Regions from separate parts of the Homo sapiens genome. Here region 2 is linked to region 1. Evidence: promoter capture Hi-C in 16 types of primary human blood cells and fetal thymus (Javierre and others, 2016). All regions are on one chromosome and are shown on one strand. Each heading gives the region's core, a stretch centred on a gene start or on the middle of the fragment in contact. The rest is flanking DNA. Distances are from core to core; before and after follow the strand shown.

Region 1 (5,931 bases), core at 3,411-5,910:
CCTAGGGCACTTAAGAATGATGCTAAATCTTTTCTGCCTGTGCACTACAAACGGAACGACAAAGCCTGGACGACAGTGCATCTGTTTATAACATGGTTTACTGAATATTTTAAGCCCACTGTTGAGACCTACTGCTTAGAATAAAAGGTTTCTTTCAAAATATTTCTGCTCATTGACAATGCATCTGATCACCCAAGAGCCCTGATGGAGCTGTCCAAGGAGATTAATGTTTTTGTGTTTGCCAACACAACATCCATTCCACAGCCCATGGATCAAAAACTAATTTTGACTTTCAAGTCTTATTACCTAAGAAATATATTTCATAAGGCTATAGCTGCCATACAGAGTGATTCCTCTGATGGATCTGGGCAAAGTAAATTGAAAACCTTCTGAAGAGGATTCACTATTCTATATGTCAATATTTGTGATTCAAGAGAGGAGGTCAAAATATCAACATTAACAGGAGTTTGGAAGAAGTTGATTCCAACTCTCATGTATGATGTTGAGGGGCTTAAGACTTCAGCAGAGGAAGTAACTATAGATGTGTTGGAAACAGCAAGAGAATTAAAATTAGAATTGGAGCCTGAAGATGTGACTGAATTGTTGCCATGTTATGGCAAAACGAACGGATGAGGAACTGCTTCTTATTCATGAACAAAGAAAGTGGTTTCTTGAGATGGAAACTACTCCTGGTGAAGATGCTGTGAACATCACTGAAATGGCAACAAAGGATTTGGAATACTACATCAATTTAGTTAATAAGGCAGTGGCAGGGTTTGAGAGGACTGACCCTAGTTTTGAAAGAATTTCTACTGTTAAAATGCTATCAAACAGCATCACATGCTACAGGGAAATCTTTCATGAAAGGAAGAGTCAACTGATGCGGCAAACTTCACTGATGTCTCATTTTCAGAAATTGCCACAGCCACACTAACTTGCAGCAATCATCACCCTGATCAGTCCTCAGCCATCAACATTGAGGCAAGACCTTCCACCAGCAAAAAGATTATAACTTGCTGAAGGCTCAGATGATCCTTAGCATTTTTAGCAATAAAGCATTTTTAAAATTAAGTTATATACATTGTTTTTAGGCCATAATGCTATGGTACACTTAATAGACTATAGTATAGTGTAAATATAATGTTTACATACACAGAAAAACCAAAAAGTTTGTGTGACTCACTTTATGGTTACATTTGCTTTATTGTGGTGGTCTAGAACTGAACATGCACTATCTCTGAGGTATGCCTGTATCTTCCTCTATCTCAGTGGGTCTCCAAACCACCTGAAGGACATGCTAAACACAGGCTGCTGCATCCCAGCCCCAGCCTCAGAGTTTCTGATTCAGCCAGTCTGGGATGAGCCTGAAAAACTGCATTTCTTTTTTTTTTACATTTTATTTTTATTTTTATCAAAGCAGTGTATCTACATTGTTTAAATAAAACAACATTAAATAGCAAATATTTAAAAACTGCAACATCTATGCCTTCTTTCTTTCTTTATTGTTATTATACTTTAAGTTTTAGGGTACATGTGCACAATGTGCAGGTTAGTTACATATGTATACATGTGCCATGCTGGTGTGCTGCACCCACTAACTCGTCATCTAGCATTAGGTATATCTCCCAATGCTATCTCTCCCCCGTCCCCCCACCCCACAACAAATGAGAACACATGGACACAGGAAGGGGAACATCACACTCTTTTTTTTAAAAATTTTACTTTAAGTTCTGGGATGCATTTGCAGAATGTGCAGGTTTGTTGCATAGGTATACATGTGCCATGGTGGTTTGCTGCACCTATCAACCCATCATCTAGGTTTTAAGCCCCGCATGCATTAGGTATTTGTTCTAATGCTCTCTCTCCCCTTGCCCCCCATCCCCCGACAGGCCCTGGTGTGTGATGTTCCCCTCCCTGTGTCCATGTGTTCTCATTGTTCAACTCCCACTTATGAGTGAGAACATGTGGTGTTCGGTTTTCTGTTCCTGTGTTGGTTTGCTAAGAATGATGGTTTCCAGCTTCATCCATGTCCCTGCAAAAGACACGAACTCATTCTTTTTTATGGCTGCATAGTATTTCATGGTATATATGTGCCACATTTTCTTTATCCAGTCTGTCATTGATGGGCATTTGGGTTGGTTCCAAGTCTTTGCTATTGTAAATAGTGCTGCAATAAACATACTTGTGCATGTGTCTTTATAGTAGAAAGATTTATAATCCTTTGGGTATATACCCAGTAATGGGATTGCTGGGTCAAATGGTATTTCTGGTTTTAGATCATTGAGGAATCACCATGCTGTCTTCCACAATGGTTGAACTAATTTACACTCCCACCAACAGTGTAAAAGCTTTCCCATTTCTCCACAGCCTTGCCAGCATCTGTTGTTACCAGACTTGTTAATGATCACCATTCTAACTGGCATGAGATGGTATCTCATTGTGGTTTTGATTTGCATTTCTCTAATGACCAGTGATGATGAGCTTTTTTTCATATGTTTCTTGGCCACATAAATGTCTTCTTTTGAGAAGTGCCTGTTCATATCCTTTGCCCACTTTTTGATGGGGTTGTTTGTTATTTTCTTGTAAATTTGTTTAAGCTCCTTGTAGATTCTGGATATTAGACCTTTGTCAGATGGGTAGATTGCAAAAATTTTCTCCAATTCTATAGGTTGCCTGCTGACTCTGATAACAGTTTCTTTTGCTGTGCAGAAGCTCTTTAGTTGAATTAGATCCCATTTGTCAACTTTGGCTTTTGTTGCAATTGCTTTTGCTGTTTTAGTCATGAAGTCTTTGCCCATGCCTATGTCCTGAATGGTATTGCCTAGACTTTCTTCTAGGGTGAAAACTCACATTTCTAACATGTTCCTGAGTCAGGTTGATGCTGAGAGTGACTGATAACACCTTATTATAATAATTATAGTTTTTGGGTGAGAGGATTAAATGGGCAAATTAATGCCAAGCACTCAGCACCATGCCTGGTATTTGTATACATTCCACAAGTGCTGGCTATGATTCTGAAGGGTGGCCTGATGAGTCTCATCCCTTGTAGTTGGTATTGCCATCACACCTCCTTCCATCTGATGCTATAATCTTCTCTAAATAGGTAATCCAGACAAGGTACTGGAATTTGTAGTTGTTGCAGAGAATCAAATTGTGAGAGTATTTGATCTGACCCCCTCGATTGGCATGAAGAAACTGAGGTCTGGAGAGACAAAATTACTTTCCCAAGGCCAAATGGCAAGTCAGAGGCAGTATATCTACGCTCTCCTTTTCTTATGCAATGAATGAGCTGGGTGGCATTTTCCCTTTCCTGTTCTTGTACTGACATTTCTGGGAATATGTGAAACATAAGGCAAGTACTTATACCCCAAAATTATATCAAGAAGATTACTGAATAAAAAAGTGGCTATATAGCACACACATACTAAATGTGAAGCTCACAGCTTTTGCAGCCAGGACTGAAAACCACTGCTCTAGCATGTTGCCTTCTTAAGTGAATGCCCAGGGCTTCTATAGTTGGGCAAATATGCTCCCTGTCTCCTGGCTTAGCTCATTCCAGGGCTATAGAACATCCTTTCCCAAGGGAGTGGATTCACACTGCTTCCATAGTCTGAGATCCTGAAGTGAGCCTTCCCCATCTGCCACAACAGAAAGTAAAAGTAGAACCTGTTCCAACTATTCTCAGTCTGTTCAACAAACAATTATTGAGCACTTGACAATTGTGTATATGGTGCAGTGATAATTGAATGGATGGTCCAGAGGGGGTCAAGACAGAGCAGCTGCCACCTGGAGATGTTCATGATATGGACTTTTCCAAGAGGAAGAGACCAACTGGAAAGATGTACCTGATTCTTAGGCTTCTGTTTGGGTCTTTTTTTTTTTTTTTTTTTTGCCTTTTGAAGGGGTGCAGCATTCCTGGAGGTACTGCAATACCAGGTCAACATGTAGAGTGAACAGAGCAAGCTCTTATTCCATCTCCCTGCTCCCAAAATCCATTTAATATGTTGTCCTCAGATGGAGGACGTATCAGATATTAAGACGATAAGAACAGATACCACACTTGATCTTAGCCAAAAGGCTGAGAAGTGATGCTGCCTATGTCTTGAGTTCATTCTCTCCCCACTGATATTATTTTCTTCCCCTTGGCAGGAAGATGATGTCTGTTAGGAAGCCTCTGAGGTTCCTGTTCCTTTCTGCTGGATTTATGCCGCTGCCAGCATCGGAGCAGTTTCTACCACCCACACATTTCCTTGTTAAATAGCCAGGCCTCTTCCCATGGGGAATGCTTTCATTAAAAGAGGCAGCCACTGCTGCACAGACCTGCAGGCTTCTCAGGGCTAGAGCAGGCGGGGGTGCAGTGGGCAAAGCCAGTGGAGGCACAGGCTGGGTTGTGGCAGTCTCCTGGAGGGCCTGCCCTAGTAATGAGGGCCCAGGCATGCGGCTGACCCTTTGAAGATGTGTCCTGAAGCTCTCTCATGGTGATCAATGACAGGAACCCAGACTCCTGCTTTAGCCAAATGATAAGTTTGGCCTCTTTTATTGGAAACCAAATTACAAATTAATTAGCAGCTTCCTCTGGGGCTGGGTGTGAACATCAACACCACCCAATGATGAATTTCTATCATGAGCCCCCTCACTGCAAGGGCATAAAATGGCCCGGGCGGCATGGGGTCTGTAGACATCCAGGTAGCTGTGGCTGAGGAGAAAGGGCCTCTCCAACATGACATCCTCCTGCTGTGTCACCAACAACTTGCAAGCCTCTCTCAAGAGCTGCCCCCGGCCTGCCTCGGTCTGTTCCAGCGGCGTGAACTGCCGGCCTGAGCTGTGCCTGGGCTATGTCTGCCAGCCCATGGCATGCCTGCCTTCGGTCTGCCTGCCCACCACCTTCCGGCCAGCCAGCTGCCTCTCCAAAACCTATCTATCCAGTTCCTGCCAGGCAGCCAGTGGCATCTCCGGCTCCATGGGCCCCGGCAGCTGGTACAGCGAAGGGGCCTTCAATGGCAATGAGAAGGAAACCATGCAGTTCCTTAACGACCGCCTGGCCAGCTACCTGACGAGGGTGCGGCAGCTGGAGCAGGAGAATGCGGAGCTGGAGAGCAGGATCCAAGAGGCCTCTCACTCCCAGGTGCTCACCATGACTCCTGACTACCAGTCTCATTTCAGGACCATTGAGGAGCTCCAGCAGAAGGTGAGGGCAGCGGTGAGGTGAATAGGCTCTCTGGGAAGGGAACTGGACTAGCTGGCATTCCAGATTGGAATCTCGTTAGCTTATTAAGCTATGTTCAGGACAAAGAGACTTCCCTAGGGCATAGGGTTATTTTATAATTTGAGCACTCAGCCTGAGGCTTTCATGTGGAGAGATCTGGGATCTAGTCTCAGTTCTACCATTGCCTCATTGCATGACTTTGGGGGTCCCATCCCTTCCCCAGGCCTCAGTTTTCTCATCTGTAAAACAGGGATAATAATGGTCGTTATCTAATGGGGTTGTCAAAAGGATTTGATGAGATGATGCAGGTCAAGTGCTTGGAACAGCCCCTGGTCCACGGTAAGTTTTCAGTAAATGTCAAAGACCCTTCTAACTGTCACATGAGTGACTTCAGACATGAGATTCTTCCCTTCCACATTGCTTGGCACATCCAAAATGGGGAATTTGAATTTACGAAGCTTCAGGTTCTTAAAAAATACATCTCAAGTTCTCCAAGGACTAGCAATTCGCTAAATATCTCCCAGAGTTCCAGGGAAGAGGACCTTCTGCAGGGATGGCTGCAGGGCTGCTGGATCCTACCTTTGCTGCTGTCTTCTCTTCATTTGGGTTCTTCTTGCTTCGTCTCATCCTGAACTAACCCTCTCCATGTGCCTTGGCCTACAGATTCTGTGTACCAAGGCAGAGAATGCCAGGATGGTTGTGAACATTGATAATGCCAAACTGGC
Region 2 (5,887 bases), core at 268-2,767, 490 kb after region 1:
ATTTTAAAGTTAAGAATGTTTTAAAAGCTTGAATTTATCATTACTTAGGAATTAAGAGAAATTATGCACATGGCTTCCTGAAGTCCGTGTGTCGATCCTCCATGTATCCCCACACTTTGCACAGCGTTCAGCAAAGTAAGCGTTGGATTTCTCTTTTGCTGTGAAAGGTACGAGAGTGAACTGTCCCTTCGCCAGCTGTTAGAGGCTGACATCAGCAGCCTGCATGGGATCCTGGAGGAACTGACCCTGTGCAAATCTGATCTGGAGGCCCATGTGGAGTCTCTGAAGGAAGATCTCCTTTGCCTTAAGAAAAACCATGAAGAGGTAAGGAAAGTGGCAACTCCGCTGAAGGACTCCGAGAGTAACGTACTTACATTGACAGATGATCTGTTGATGTTTGTAAATCGAATTTGGGCAGATGTTGTTTAAGCTGGAATAAAACTACTTGAGGCAGGGCCAGGCATGGTGGCTCACACCTGTAATCCAAGCACTTTGGGAGGCTGAGGCAGGAGGATCACAAGGTCAGGAGTTCGAGACCAGCCTGACCAATATGATGAAACCTCATCTCTACTAAAAATACAAAAATTAGCTGGGCATGGTGGCAGGCGCCTGTAGTCCTAGCTACTCGGGAGGCTGAGGCAGGAGAATCACTTGAACTCAGGAGGCGGAGGTTGCAGTGAGCCGAGATCTTACCACTGCACTCCAGCCTGGGTGACAGGGCGAGACTCCATCTCAAAAAACAAACAAACAAACAAACAAACAAAAACTACTCGAGGCATTATTACTATTCAACCTGATCATTCCAGTGTGTCTCTGATTTAAGGTGTGAAATAACCCCTAGACAGCGCCAGAGGAAGGAATCAAACTCTTCTCCTGCCCTTGCCTTTGTGGAGGAGGTAACTTCACAAATGGCTTCCTTTGGAGGCTTTATGCCACCCCTAGCTCCAGTCCACAGGGTATGAAAATCAGGCTGAGGAACAGACTGTGAAGTCCATTTCAAAAAAGGGATAAAGACTGTGCACTATCTGGACCAGTGTTTTTAAATATTCCGCATTTATAAACTTCTAAAAATCATAAAATATACAGCCACTGATATATTGATAAAGCTAGAAAATGAAAAGCTGAATGATGTAACAAAGTACATTTGCTCTTTGAACGTTTGTTGATGACAATCATAGCTAACATTTATTGACACCTTACTATGTGTCATAATTAACTTTTATAAGTTAATTATGTGTAGATTGACTCTTCTAGATCTCACAATAACTTTCTGGAAAAATGTCCAATTATTATGTCCATTTTACAGACGAAGAAACTGAGGCCCTTCTAAGTGGTGAAAAGAGATTCAGCCCAGGCAATCTGAATCAAAATCTCACACTTTTACCCACTGCTCCAAAAAACAGAAGTAGAATGCCATTGGATGTCAAATGGATTTTTCCCCACCATTCTGTGACATTCTTTACACCATCCCACTTTCAGGAAGTCAACTTGCTTCGTGAACAGCTTGGCGACCGCCTCAGTGTGGAGCTGGACACTGCCCCCACCCTTGACCTCAACAGGGTCCTGGATGAGATGCGCTGTCAGTGTGAAACGGTGCTTGCCAACAATCGCAGAGAAGCTGAAGAATGGTTGGCTGTTCAGGTCAGTACCCAGATTGAAAAAATGTCAGGCTTACAGACTTCTGCCTTTTTTGAATTCTCTAATGGTGTCTGTGTTTCAGACAGAAGAGCTGAATCAGCAGCAACTGTCCAGCGCGGAGCAGCTGCAGGGCTGCCAGATGGAGATCTTGGAACTGAAACGCACAGCCAGTGCTCTGGAAATTGAGCTCCAAGCACAGCAAAGCCTGGTGCGTGAGGCAAAGGCAGTGTCCGTTGTGTCACTGATAAGTCAGGCCCTGAGATGTTAAGCCCTCTTCCATATCCGAGGATCACATTTCCTTGCCTTTCCCGAGTACTGCCGTTTACCCAGCTATTAATAGAAGCAGAAGTGACAGGTCCACAGCTTGTCCTCTAAGATGCCTTACCTTCACTCCTGGGCTTGAGTCTGATGCTGCAGCAGCCTCCAGAGACAGGGAGGGAGAAGCAGAGCTGGAGAGAAACCTCCGGGCCATGGTCGCTTAAGCATTCTGGCAGGTTTTAATTCTCATTTGATTCAGGCCAGTTTTCCAGGCTCACTGTTATATCTAAAACAAAGAATCATTTTCAAACATTTCATCCTACAGTTTCCCAGGATCTACACTTCAACCTTATCCTTCACTGCACCACCCCCCACTCAAGCAACAGGAACACCATGCGTTCAAGATGACATGAACCAGTTCTGGTCAAGCACCACTGTGTGCATGTCATTAGGCCCTGCGGAGAACACCTAGAAGAACAATAGCTGAGCATTCATCCTGTGAGAGGCACTATGCTGATTTAAGGCTCACAGTAACTTTACCGGATAGATACCTTTATCCCATGACACAGATAAGGAAAACTGAGACTCAGATTAAGTAACTTGCAAAGGATGCAATTCTAAGAGGCAAACTTGGAAGCTGAGTTCAGCCAGTTGAATCCCAGAGTCTCTTCTCTCTCTCTTTTTAAATTTATTTTTATTGATATATAATATGCGTAAATTTTTTTTACGTAGATGTGATATTTTGTTACATGCATAGAATGTGTAATGATCAAGTCAGGATATTTAGAGCATCCATCACCTCAAGTATTTATCATTTCTATGTGTTGGGAGCATTTCAAGTCCTCCCATCTAGCTATTTTGAAATGCACAGTGTATTGTTGTTAACTGTAGTCACACTTCTCTGCTGTCCAACATGAAAACATATTCTTTCTGTCTAACTGTATGTTTGCACCCATTAACCAACCTCTCTTCATCCCCTTACCACACATATGCCAGTCCCAGCCTCTGGTATCCAGAGCCTCTTCTCTTAATAGCACTATACTACCCCTCCCTGCCAAGAGCCCAAACTCAATCTTTCCTCTCATATGTTGTGGATAGTCCTTAAGCTTCACAAATATGTCATGTATTGCTGTAGTCATAGTGGTGGTAGTGATAGTTGACACGTAGAACAGTGGCAGTATGGCTGGCACTGTTCTAAATGCTTTACGCACATTAACTCTTTTTTTTTTTTTTTGGACGGAGTCTCCCTCTGTCGCCCAGGCTGGAGTGCAATGGCATGATCTTGACTTACTGCAAGCTTTGCCTCCCGGGTTCACACCATTCTCCTGAGTAGCTGGGACTACAGGCGTCCACCACCGTACCCAGCTAATTTTTTATATTTTTAGTAGAGACGGGGTTTCACCGTGTTAGCCAGGATGGTCTCGATCTTCTGACCTTGTGATCCGCCCGCCTCGGCCTCCCAAAGTGCTGGGATTACAGGCCTGAGCCACCGCGCCCAGCCCGCATATTAACTCTTAATCTTCACAACCGTCTAATGAAACAGATACTTTGTATTCTCCACTATACAGAGAATAAAACTGAGACTCACAGAAGCTAAATAATTTGCCAGTGGTCACATAGCTAGAAAAGGGTAAGCAGGAATTTGAAAGTAGGCACTCTGGCCCGAGAGACTGCACTTCATGGTCCTTTGGACAATGTTTCCTCCCGCAGACAGAATCTCTGGAATGCACCGTGGCAGAAACCGAGGCCCAGTACAGCTCCCAGCTGGCCCAAATTCAGTGTCTGATCGATAACCTGGAGAACCAGCTGGCCGAGATCCGCTGCGACCTGGAGCGACAGAACCAGGAGTACCAGGTGCTCCTGGACGTGAAGGCCCGGCTGGAGGGTGAGATCAACACGTACTGGGGCCTGCTGGACAGCGAGGACAGCAGGCAAGTTCCACAGTTACTCATGAAATCCCCCAGAGTCACAAAGAGGCTGATGTAAAAGAATCCTGTTTCCCCAAAGTCTGGACAAGTTCAGACCTCCCCAGTGTGTTTAGGGATCTTCTTAAAAAAGTGCTGAAAAGTGGCTGAGGTTAAGAACATGACACTAGAGATATTTTTAAAATATTCTAAAGGCAGATTAATTATTAGTGTAACATTTCATGCTGGCATCTCCCTTTGTTCCTGTTTTCCACTAAAGGAAAATCAGGAATAGGCCTAAGATAACATTTGCAAAATCAAGAAAAAATATAAAATACTATTCAACTGCCACTGCTACAGTGAACATGAAGTGGCAATTCTGGGTGCAGAGAAGAAACAGGCTTCAGTCAATGCTATTGTGCAGAGTTTTTTTCAGAACATAATTTGTAGGGCAAATTTTGACACGGTTTTTCTGAGTTGCCATTTTATCAACATTCCCTTGTTAATCTTGGTTGAAAATCGATTTTTCCCCAGGCTTTCCTGTAGCCCATGTTCGACCACATGCACCTCGAGCAACACTTGTGAGCCATGCTCAGCCTATGTCATCTGCACTGTTGAAAACTGCTGCTTGTGAATGTTAAGGACAGCAGGTAGAGGAATCAAAGCCAGCAGCATCCTAGAAAGGAGATGGGGCTTCAACCAGGGACATCCAAACCGGAAGCACAAATCCAGGAGGCTCTCATATCCTGGAATTGCCCTCCAGGTATCCTCAGTCTTTCTGCTTTACTATTTCCTCTCCTTCCGGCTTATTTGTGGTATACTGGAAGCCCATAAAGCATTCTTGCTCATCTCCAAATAAAACGTGTTTTATTCCTTTAGCGTGGTAAATATAGCTCTATGGCTGATTACTGTTGATAGAATATTCATTTTATGGCAAGGAAATCATCTAAACCCATAACCATAGTTTCAATGTACATAAACCCAGGCTGAAAATATTTTTTAACTCCTCAAATACAAATAAATTAATGAACCCATGAGAAATGTCATATATCTTAGAAAATAGTTGTGTGTATCTTTCTGAGGAAAAATATTAGGAATAAAATATGATAAAATGTATTTTTTGATTATAAAAGTACTAGATTCTCTTTTTTTAAATTTGGCTCATTAAAAGGGAAAAGGTCACTTATGATTTCATCTTCCAAACAGCCATAGTCAATATTTTGGGGTACTTTCTTCCAGTTTTCTTTCTTATAATAGATTTTTCCACACAGCTATAATCATACTAACATATGCACACACTTGTGTAAACTTTCTTTCATTTATGTCATCTAAGCATTTTTAATTCTAATAAAAACATAAGATTGTATTGTAGCCATCACTTTTTTTATTTTTTATTTTTTTTTTGAGACAGAGTCTTGCTGTGTCACCCAGGCTGGAGTGTAGTCACACTATCTGGGCTCACTGCAACCTCTGCCTCCTGGGTTCAAGCGATTCTCCTGCCTCAGCCTCCCAAGTAGCTGGGACTACAGGTGTCTGCCACCACACCAGGCTAATTTTTTTTTTTTTTTAGTAGAGACAGGGTTTCACCGTGTTAGCCAGGATGGTCTCAATCTCTTGACCTTGTGATCCACCAGCTTCAGCCTCCCAAAGTGCTGGGATTACAGGTGTGAGCCACTGCACCCAGCCTGTAGCCATCATTTTACTGGTTGCATAATGTACCATAAGGTACATTGATCTGTTATTGGACATTTAGGTTATAAGAATAATTATTCTCATATATTTAAAAAACAAGGTAGAGAACTTCCAGAATGATGTATATTTCCATATTCCTCCTCCTAAAAACCCTGGAAATTACATATCAAATAAACATAAGAGGACTCTGAAAGGTAGAAGAAGAAGCCAAACCACCTAAAGATGTTGAGACTCCAGGAGTGACACTGTGGTGAGCTCCCTGGATTAGCTTTTTATCTCATATATCCCAGAGGGGGAGCTGGAGAAACCAACAACCAGAAACACCAACAGGTGCAGACAAAACAAACAAACAAACAAACAGAAAGAGCTTGCTCTGCTTAAAGAACCAGAAAAGA

The links. Contacts are between HindIII fragments. The CHiCAGO score rates a contact against its expected background, and 5 or more counts as called.
Region 2: a fragment that was not itself captured here is called in contact with the fragment with the promoter of KRT32 in region 1 in 4 of 17 cell types (total CD4 T cells, naive B cells, naive CD8 T cells and 1 more); the score reaches 5.7 in total CD4 T cells.

Annotation. Positions count from the first base shown.
Region 1 is chr17:41,466,115-41,472,045 of GRCh38, reverse strand. KRT32 (keratin 32) reads left to right here and starts at 4,660. Exons shown (of 7, transcript NM_002278.3): 1 at 4,660-5,188; 2 at 5,870-5,931. The coding sequence starts at 4,721. It also overlaps the pseudogene RNU2-32P. The HindIII fragment of the contact is 3,316 bases long and covers 2,351-5,666 here.
Region 2 is chr17:40,976,744-40,982,630 of GRCh38, reverse strand. KRT40 (keratin 40) reads left to right here. Exons shown (of 7, transcript NM_001389244.1): 3 at 168-324; 4 at 1,480-1,641; 5 at 1,721-1,846; 6 at 3,607-3,827; 7 at 4,335-4,916. The coding sequence ends at 4,434. LOC107985072 (a long non-coding RNA gene) reads right to left here. Exons shown (of 4, transcript XR_001752886.2): 3 at 2,024-2,182; 4 at 1-303. Among named protein-coding and RNA genes, the nearest start is that of KRT40, 4.6 kb to the left of the region's middle. RefSeq lists an enhancer at 2,024-2,625. The HindIII fragment of the contact is 2,975 bases long and covers 30-3,004 here.